Linked DNA regions of Homo sapiens: all the other regions are linked to region 3. Evidence: promoter capture Hi-C in 16 types of primary human blood cells and fetal thymus (Javierre and others, 2016). All regions are on one chromosome and are shown on one strand. Each heading gives the region's core, a stretch centred on a gene start or on the middle of the fragment in contact. The rest is flanking DNA. Distances are from core to core; before and after follow the strand shown.

The links. Contacts are between HindIII fragments. The CHiCAGO score rates a contact against its expected background, and 5 or more counts as called.
Region 1: a contact is called between a fragment that was not itself captured here and the fragment with the promoter of UCN2 in region 3, in 2 of 17 cell types (naive CD4 T cells and neutrophils). The highest score is 6.4, in naive CD4 T cells.
Region 2: a fragment that was not itself captured here is called in contact with the fragment with the promoter of UCN2 in region 3 in 5 of 17 cell types (naive CD4 T cells, total CD8 T cells, naive CD8 T cells and 2 more); the score reaches 7.5 in naive CD4 T cells.

The regions. Positions count from the first base shown.
Region 1 is chr3:48,415,377-48,418,076 of GRCh38, reverse strand. It overlaps PLXNB1 (plexin B1), which reads left to right. Exons shown (of 38, transcript NM_001130082.3): 16 at 15-166; 17 at 1,626-1,731; 18 at 1,910-2,046; 19 at 2,318-2,494. Among named protein-coding and RNA genes, the nearest start is that of PLXNB1, 13 kb to the left of the region's middle. The HindIII fragment of the contact is 450 bases long and covers 1,124-1,573 here.
Region 2 is chr3:48,397,644-48,400,343 of GRCh38, reverse strand. No RefSeq gene overlaps it. Among named protein-coding and RNA genes, the nearest start is that of FBXW12, 27 kb to the right of the region's middle. The HindIII fragment of the contact is 849 bases long and covers 890-1,738 here.
Region 3 is chr3:48,562,331-48,565,030 of GRCh38, reverse strand. It overlaps UCN2 (urocortin 2), which reads left to right and starts at 1,250. Exons shown (of 2, transcript NM_033199.4): 1 at 1,250-1,328; 2 at 1,895-2,700. The coding sequence starts at 1,907. The coding sequence ends at 2,245. It overlaps COL7A1 (collagen type VII alpha 1 chain), which reads left to right. Exons shown (of 119, transcript NM_000094.4): 118 at 51-248; 119 at 609-958. The coding sequence ends at 625. It also overlaps a transcript of PFKFB4 not described here. The HindIII fragment of the contact is 21,136 bases long and covers 1-2,700 here.

The DNA of each region.
Region 1 (2,700 bases), core at 99-2,598, 150 kb after region 3:
TTGTCCTGGAACAGGTGGAGCCACTGACTGGGCCTGTAGACGGAGGCACCCGTGTCACCATCAGGGGCTCCAACCTGGGCCAGCATGTGCAGGATGTGCTGGGCATGGTCACGGTGGCTGGAGTGCCCTGTGCTGTGGATGCCCAGGAGTACGAGGTCTCCAGCAGGTAAGCTGGCTGCACCCAGCAGGAGCACGGCGCAGCCTGGGGCCTCCGCGGTTGGCGTTGCTGCTTGGGGCCTCCCACCCACCGCTCATCTGCCCCCCTCTCTCCCTGTTCCTTGATCCTGGCCACAATGCCCGAGTGCCAGCGTTGCCACTGAAGACCCTGAGCACCCACCACACCTGTAGGTTCCTGGCCTGGGCTGCTGGGGAATCCTTCCTGGGCCCGTCACTGCCCAGAACTGACTCGTGGCTCTGCTTCCTGCTCTGCTCACCTGGTCTTCTGAGGGACTGTGGATATATTAATAGCTGTGGCAGCAGGACCCTCAGATCAGACAGATAAGCTCAGGGGCTGGCCTTCTCACCAGCTCACTCTTCCCCAGGCATTGTCCTGGGCTGCCAGGCTCTTCAGGAAGGTAGACTTGGAAGGCACACCTCAGAAAGGCACACTGGCCGAGGGCCAGGCTCCACTGTCGTCTCTAGGGACCCCTGCTGCCTTCCTGGGGCTCCTGGGTTATGGTAACCTGGCCAGCGGTTGCAGGCCCCAAAGGTACACACGCAGGACATTCCTAAGGAGATGTCCATAAGCAGCAGGGCCCAAACGTGGCTGAATATCAGGGTAACCTGCAGATCCTGTCCCAAACCAACACAAACATCTGGATTCAGGAGGCCCACGGTGGGGCCCCCAAATCTGTATTTGAAACAAGGAACCACTCTCCTGGAGCACGGAGTGTCCCCTGAATGTGTTATGACCGAGAACTTACGGTGACTATCTAGACTGTTAGTGTTCCAGACCATAAGACTGCTGTGATTTATGAAGCAATTAGCATATATTCTGTCTGGAGCCTCCCCTGGGTGGCTCACACGTCACTTGTGTCTTCCTAGTGTTTGCAACAACTGTGACAATGTCACTGAGTTGAGCCACTGCAGGCTTAACACTCTGGAAGTTTAATTTGCCCAAGCTTCTATTTTCTGGCTAAGAACCAGCATTTTCTTAGATGGTTCACTTTCCCTTCACCTGTATTTCCCTGTCTGACTAGAGGCTTTCAGGGACTCTTTTTCCTGAATAAATCAAGTTTCTACCATGCTTTGAGTGGGTACTGTGCATGTGACGTGGCGGAGGACATGGGCGGCTAGCTGTGCCCACTCACTTGCTCAGCAGCTCGCCCCACAACCAGGCTGACAGGGCCCCTTTGTAAATTTATGCCACAGATAAATTCTTCCTTATTGGGGGCCCCTGGGGTTGAACTTAAATGATTGAAGCCACAAATATTAATTCTCAGATACCAAGGCCTTCTGATGTGTCATAAAGAATTCCCTCCAAAGTGAGAGAGGGTCTCTGTCAATCTTATGGAGCATGGGAAGGGGAAGACCACCTGACAGTAGGGCAGGGAGAGGGGCTGCCAGGTAAGCTTGAGGGGCCCTTGATGCAGCCTGGCACCCCCTAGCCTGCCCTGTGCCTACAGCCTCGTGTGCATCACCGGGGCCAGTGGGGAGGAGGTGGCCGGCGCCACAGCGGTGGAGGTGCCGGGAAGAGGACGTGGTGTCTCAGAACACGACTTTGCCTACCAGGTACCTGACTGCTGAGCCACCCCCAGCTGCCAGCGGGCCAACCTCTCTGGTGGCTCCTCTCAACCCATCTGGTTATTCCTTGGTGGGGCTCCCAGTCCTGGGCCAGCCTGTCTCTCAGGCTGTCCCTGCCTCCATGTGTCTGGTCTGATGCTCATCTCTCTCCCTGTCTGTCCCACAGGATCCGAAGGTCCATTCCATCTTCCCGGCCCGCGGCCCCAGAGCTGGGGGCACCCGTCTCACCCTGAATGGCTCCAAGCTCCTGACTGGGCGGCTGGAGGACATCCGAGTGGTGGTTGGAGACCAGCCTTGTCACTTGTGAGGGCCACTTCCTCATCCTGCAAAAATCCATCTGCTCCAGGGGAAAGATGGAGGGGTCTGAGATCCTGGGGAGAGCAGAAAGGGGAAGAGGGCCAGTCTGCTCCTTCAGAGAGTGGCCAGACCCTCCCTAGCCAGCTGTGGTGGGAGTGCACCTCCAGGGACACCTGGTGGAGACTGCAGTCAGCGCTTGAGGGAAGCCAGTTGGGGCCTGAGTGGTCCAAGTTTTCCCTGCCTGCGCCCCTGCATTCATTCCCACCTCCCCTCCCAGGCTGCCGGAGCAGCAGTCAGAACAACTGCGGTGTGAGACCAGCCCACGCCCCACGCCTGCCACGCTCCCTGTGGCTGTGTGGTTTGGGGCCACGGAGCGGAGGCTTCAACGCGGACAGTTCAAGTATACCTTGGACCCCAACATCACCTCTGCTGGCCCCACCAAGAGCTTCCTCAGGTGTTGGGCCAGGGGTGTGGCTGCATGGCAGGTGGCAGGGAGGTCTTTGCAGCTCCACTATGTGGGGGTTTGTAGGGCTTTATGTTGAGGCACTGAGAATCCCATGCTGCTAGTAGGGGCAAGGGGTCGTGTGGTTTGGGGCTGGGGCTGAGCTGACCTAGCCGGGACTGGGCTGTGCTTTAGGTCCAGGTAACATAAGCCATCTT
Region 2 (2,700 bases), core at 65-2,564, 160 kb after region 3:
GATTATGCCACCACACTCCAGCCTGAGCAGCAGAATGAGACTCTGTCTCAAAAAGAAAACAACAACAACAACAACAAAAAACCAGAAACCACTCTAGGTGTTTCCAATGGAAGGAATTTAAATATAAGGGATTGATTATGAAAGTGTGTGAAGGACAAAAAGGGGAGTAGTTATCCAGCGGTGAGTGACTATAGAAGCCTCTGTCACCTATAAGCTGGCAAAGGGGGCAGCAGTGTTACCCACAGCCTCTGACTGCTGAGTCAGTGGCGCCCGTGGGAAGCCAGGAGCTGCATGCTGGCTGACGCTGCAGGTGCCTGGGAACCTGCTAACCTGGCCCCTCCACCCATGCTGGTGAGTTGGTGCTGCTGGGGCACCTGCTGCCCTAGTGAATGGGTGCCACCAGGAAGAGAGGATTCAAGCCTGTCTTGCTCAAGACCTCCTCCACCACCAGACTTGCCTCAAGATCTCAGGCCCAAGAAGCCCCAGGGAGTGGAGTGACAGGAGCCTTGCTCTGGGAGGCAGGAGACCTGGATTCTAGTTCCTCCTCCTCTCACTGACTGGGCCTCTGGAGAGAAGGGCAGGGACATTCTGGCATGTGGCAGGAGCCACTCTGTGTCATGGGGTTGGATCCCAAGCTGGCACCTGGCAGGATTTAATGAAGAAACATTTATCAAGTGCTGGATCAGTCCAGCTCCTGGCAGGAAACTGACAGCATGTACCAGGAAAGATGCAGCTGGAAGAGAGTTTAATGAGGGGACTACTTACAGAGCTGCAGGCTCTGGGAAGCCAATAAGGGATGGTGAAGCACAGCTGTTACCAGTCCTGGGCTCTAGGGGTAGGGACAGAGTAGTCATCAGGACCAGTGGGGCTGTGGCTAAAGGTGGAAGCTTCAGAGGGAGGATGCTGGGGGAATAATTACCCTGGCCTCTTGTTCCTCCCCACTGCCCAGACTCCTGCCAGCCCGTCCCGTTGGCCAAGCCACCTGAAAGCCAGAGGGCAGGGGAGCCTGAATGGCAGGGCAGCCTCTGGACTGCTGAGTGGTGAAGAAGTGGGCAGAAAACTGCCTCTGGCCTGAGGACCTGCTGTCCTGGGAGGCACCTAGCAGGTGCTTTGTCATTCAAGGCCACAAGGTCACGGCCATAGCAGTACTTGGTTTCCAGCCCCCTGGCTTGCAGAATTTTCCACCGCACTCCATGCCCTAGTGCTCCTTGGGCGGTGCTGCACTGTCCACCTGAAGGACCTTGGAAACACCAAATTTTGGGGGCTGACTGGGCCTCTTCACCTTATCTCCAGGTTGGGTGGGATGCTGGGTGTGCAAATAGGGACCCAAGGAAGACTCCACACTACAGGCTGTGTCTACAGCTTCATCTCAGGGCAGAAGTCAGCAGGGCCAGGCACAGACCCATCCGGAGCTGGGGGAGGGGCAGGACGCCTGGTTCTCTACACCCAAAGAAATGTGTGTGGGGCACTCCCAAGCCCCCACGCAGAGACAAACCCTCGCGCCTGCGCCCAGCCCAGGTTGCTGACTGGAGTGGAGGCAGCAGAACTCTGTGTGTGTGTGTGTCTGTGTGTTTGATGTATATGTTTGAAGTGTGTGTGTAGCATTGGGGACAGGCAGAGGCTCTGCTCAATGGGGAATGATGTTCTGGTGGAACACCCCATGGACTTGGAGCTTGAGAAGTGGGCTTTGGCCAGGCCCTGGCACTGACCACCTAGGAACAGTCATCTTTTCCAAGCTTCTGGTTCCTCTTCTGTAAGGTGTGAGTCCCTAACCACCTTTCCAAAGACAGCATCCTGTGCAAGCTGTCACGGGAGGGGGAAGGGCCCTGGTGACCCTCAGGGCCTCTAGAGCCTGTGGGCAAGAGCTGGCCCTCCATGCCAAGGTGCCAGGCCTAACCCTGGTGAAGAGTGACCCAACTGGGCGACTGCCTGAGGCCTCAGAGGAGGACAAGGAGAAGGTGCACAGCAGCAGGGTGCACACCTTGCCCTGGCCTCTCCTAGGGTAGAGGACGGTGTGAGCCCCCAGAGGCTGTCATCCAGCCTGAGAGGTTTCTTGGCTCTTCCTCCCATGCCCAGGGTTCTCCCAGACTGCAGAGCAAGATCCAGGCTCCACACAATGCCAGAGGCCCTGCCTCTATCTTCTCTCTGGCCAGCGGCCCTATCGCTAACCCCACACATGAAGGATACTGCTTTGGCATCATCGTTTGTGAGGGCCAGGCTGGGGAAGGGTGGAGAGAGTGTCCTTCCCTGGGGAGGCTGAACCCAGGGAGATGGAGTGACATGCCCCAAAAACACAGCAAGTGGGACTAGAACCCATGTCTCCAGATGGAACCCCAGGCTCCCACTGCTCCATGCTGTGCAGGTTACACCTCCCACCCTGCCGCTCTCTCCGGGGGCCTCAGTCCACCTCCTGAGCCCATGTCCTCAGTCCATGATTGGACCGGGTCCCTGGGTCCCTTGGAGGACCAGCCAAGCCCAGGTCCTTCTTTGCTTCTTACTCCCCACCCCAGTCTCCTTGTTCTTCAGTCTTTTGCTTTCCCACTGGCTCCCTTCTCACACCTCCCATGGCTGTGCCCATTTCTCCTTTTAACTCTGTCAACTTTTGGATCCTATATTTGAAGCAAGGCATGCATATATATTTTAAATTTTATTATCTCTGTTTTGATCTTTTTGTCATAAAAAATTCGTTTTTATTTCTAA
Region 3 (2,700 bases), core at 1-2,500:
AACCCTCTCTGATTCCCACAAACCCTGCTGACTTGACCCCATTGGCCCAGACCCCTGTTCCCTGCCACTGGATGAGGGCTCCTGCACTGCCTACACCCTGCGCTGGTACCATCGGGCTGTGACAGGCAGCACAGAGGCCTGTCACCCTTTTGTCTATGGTGGCTGTGGAGGGAATGCCAACCGTTTTGGGACCCGTGAGGCCTGCGAGCGCCGCTGCCCACCCCGGGTGGTCCAGAGCCAGGGGACAGGTATGGGCTGAGCCCCCACCGTGGGGAACTGGGCACTGAGCCTGCCTGGATCGGGTTCTGGGGGAGGAGTCCTTGGGCCAGGGTTCCAGGTCAGGGTCCTGGAGGAGACGCTCCCTCGCAGTAGGGGACCTGGGGCAGACGCCCAGACCAAAGAGCTGAATATAGAGCCCCAGCCGTGGAGCCCCCAGTAGGGTCCCCTTCCATGTTCCCTCCTTTAAAGACCTAAGTATGGACCCCTCTGAGGTCAGAGCCCCCACTTCCTGTTGTAGCCTCCGCTCCCTCCCCTTGGCGGTGCCTCTGCCTGAGCGTCTCCGGGGAAGGTCAGATGGCTGACGACCGTTTCCAACCTGTCCTCACCAGGTACTGCCCAGGACTGAGGCCCAGATAATGAGCTGAGATTCAGCATCCCCTGGAGGAGTCGGGGTCTCAGCAGAACCCCACTGTCCCTCCCCTTGGTGCTAGAGGCTTGTGTGCACGTGAGCGTGCGTGTGCACGTCCGTTATTTCAGTGACTTGGTCCCGTGGGTCTAGCCTTCCCCCCTGTGGACAAACCCCCATTGTGGCTCCTGCCACCCTGGCAGATGACTCACTGTGGGGGGGTGGCTGTGGGCAGTGAGCGGATGTGACTGGCGTCTGACCCGCCCCTTGACCCAAGCCTGTGATGACATGGTGCTGATTCTGGGGGGCATTAAAGCTGCTGTTTTAAAAGGCTCCTGTTGTGACTGTTTGGGAAGATGGGGGGTTTCAAGGGGGAAGGTTTTCCTTGGGGGGTTGGTATTATTCTGCATGGGTACAGAGTCCCTCTGCCCAGTCCTGGTCACTGTCTTGTGATTCTCAGTCCCCAACTTGTCCCCGGAAAAGAGTAGATAGGGTGGGGGCTAAGGACACCCCCGGGAGGGATGAGTCATAGGTGGGGGGCTGCCTCATGCCAGGAAGCATGTACCAGCTCCCACCCCAGGGGGCTGAGGGAGATAAATGGGCCCTGAAGCGGGGTAGAGGGTCAGACCACAGGACAGTAGTGCCTGGCCCCAGCCCCAGGCAGCCACAGCAGGCTGCCTTACCCCAGAAGCAGCTGGTGGCGGTAGGACTGGGTTGGGTCGGGATGGGAAGGGTCTTGGAGGTTGAGTGGATGTGGGGTTTGGCTTTATGGAGGGCTTGGACCCAGGGGACTCTGGGATCTCTGGCTGCTTTTCTGCCTCTGAGATCCGATTCCTGCCCTTCTGTTTCCTGGATCAGCTGCAAGCTCTCCTGCTGAGAACCGCCTGCCCTCCTGTGGACTCTGTGTTTCTGTCTGAATCTTTCTTTCCATCATGCTGTCTGTCTCTGGGATGGTTTCTGTCTGTCTTTTTCTTCTAGTCTCCATTTTGCTCTGCCTCCATCTCCTTCATCTCCCTCTCTTGCTGTCCCTCTGTCTCTGGATTTCTTTGTTTCTTTTTTTCTGTCTTGCTTTCTGCCTCTTTGTCTCATTCTGGCTCTCCTCTTGTCTCCCCTTCTCTGTCTCTGGCCTGGCCTGGCCTCTCTAACCCCTTTCTCGGTGTCTTCCTCTCTCTCCATCCCCCGCTCTGTCACTCTGCCCTTGCCATCTGTCTCTGTCCATGGACCCCAGTTGACCAGAGCCCCTGCCCTGAGCCCATTTTCTCCTTGCAGCCTGACCTCACGATGACCAGGTGTGCTCTGCTGTTGCTGATGGTCCTGATGTTGGGCAGAGTCCTGGTTGTCCCAGTGACCCCTATCCCAACCTTCCAGCTCCGCCCTCAGAATTCTCCCCAGACCACTCCCCGACCTGCGGCCTCAGAGAGCCCCTCAGCTGCTCCCACATGGCCGTGGGCTGCCCAGAGCCACTGCAGCCCCACCCGCCACCCTGGCTCGCGCATTGTCCTATCGCTGGATGTCCCCATCGGCCTCTTGCAGATCTTACTGGAGCAAGCCCGGGCCAGGGCTGCCAGGGAGCAGGCCACCACCAACGCCCGCATCCTGGCCCGTGTCGGCCACTGCTGAGCCTGAGAGAGGGGGTCACAGTGATAGGGCCACCCTGGATGGGAAGACCTGGAGGGCAGCCACACAGCTGGACGGATGCTGCCACATCTGGGCATACAGTGTCTGGACGCTGCCACATCTGGGCATACAGTGTCTGGACACTGCCACATGGAGCCACTGTCATGCAGGTCATATCAGATCTGAGTGCCCCACAGAGTCACAGTGTGTCTGGACAGCCTGGACATTGGACATTGCTAAGTTGGGTCACTGCCACATGGAGTCTTGCCATGCCTGTGTGCCCCACAGACCTAATATATGTCCGGACAGCTTGGATGCTGCCACGTAAGGTCACTGCTGTGGCGAGTCTTGCTATGTCTGGGTGCCCCATAGTCACAGAACACCTGGACACCGCCACATGCAGTCATCATCATGTTACTTTCAGGAGCCTCAACACGAGAGCTCAACACTGCCTCCGA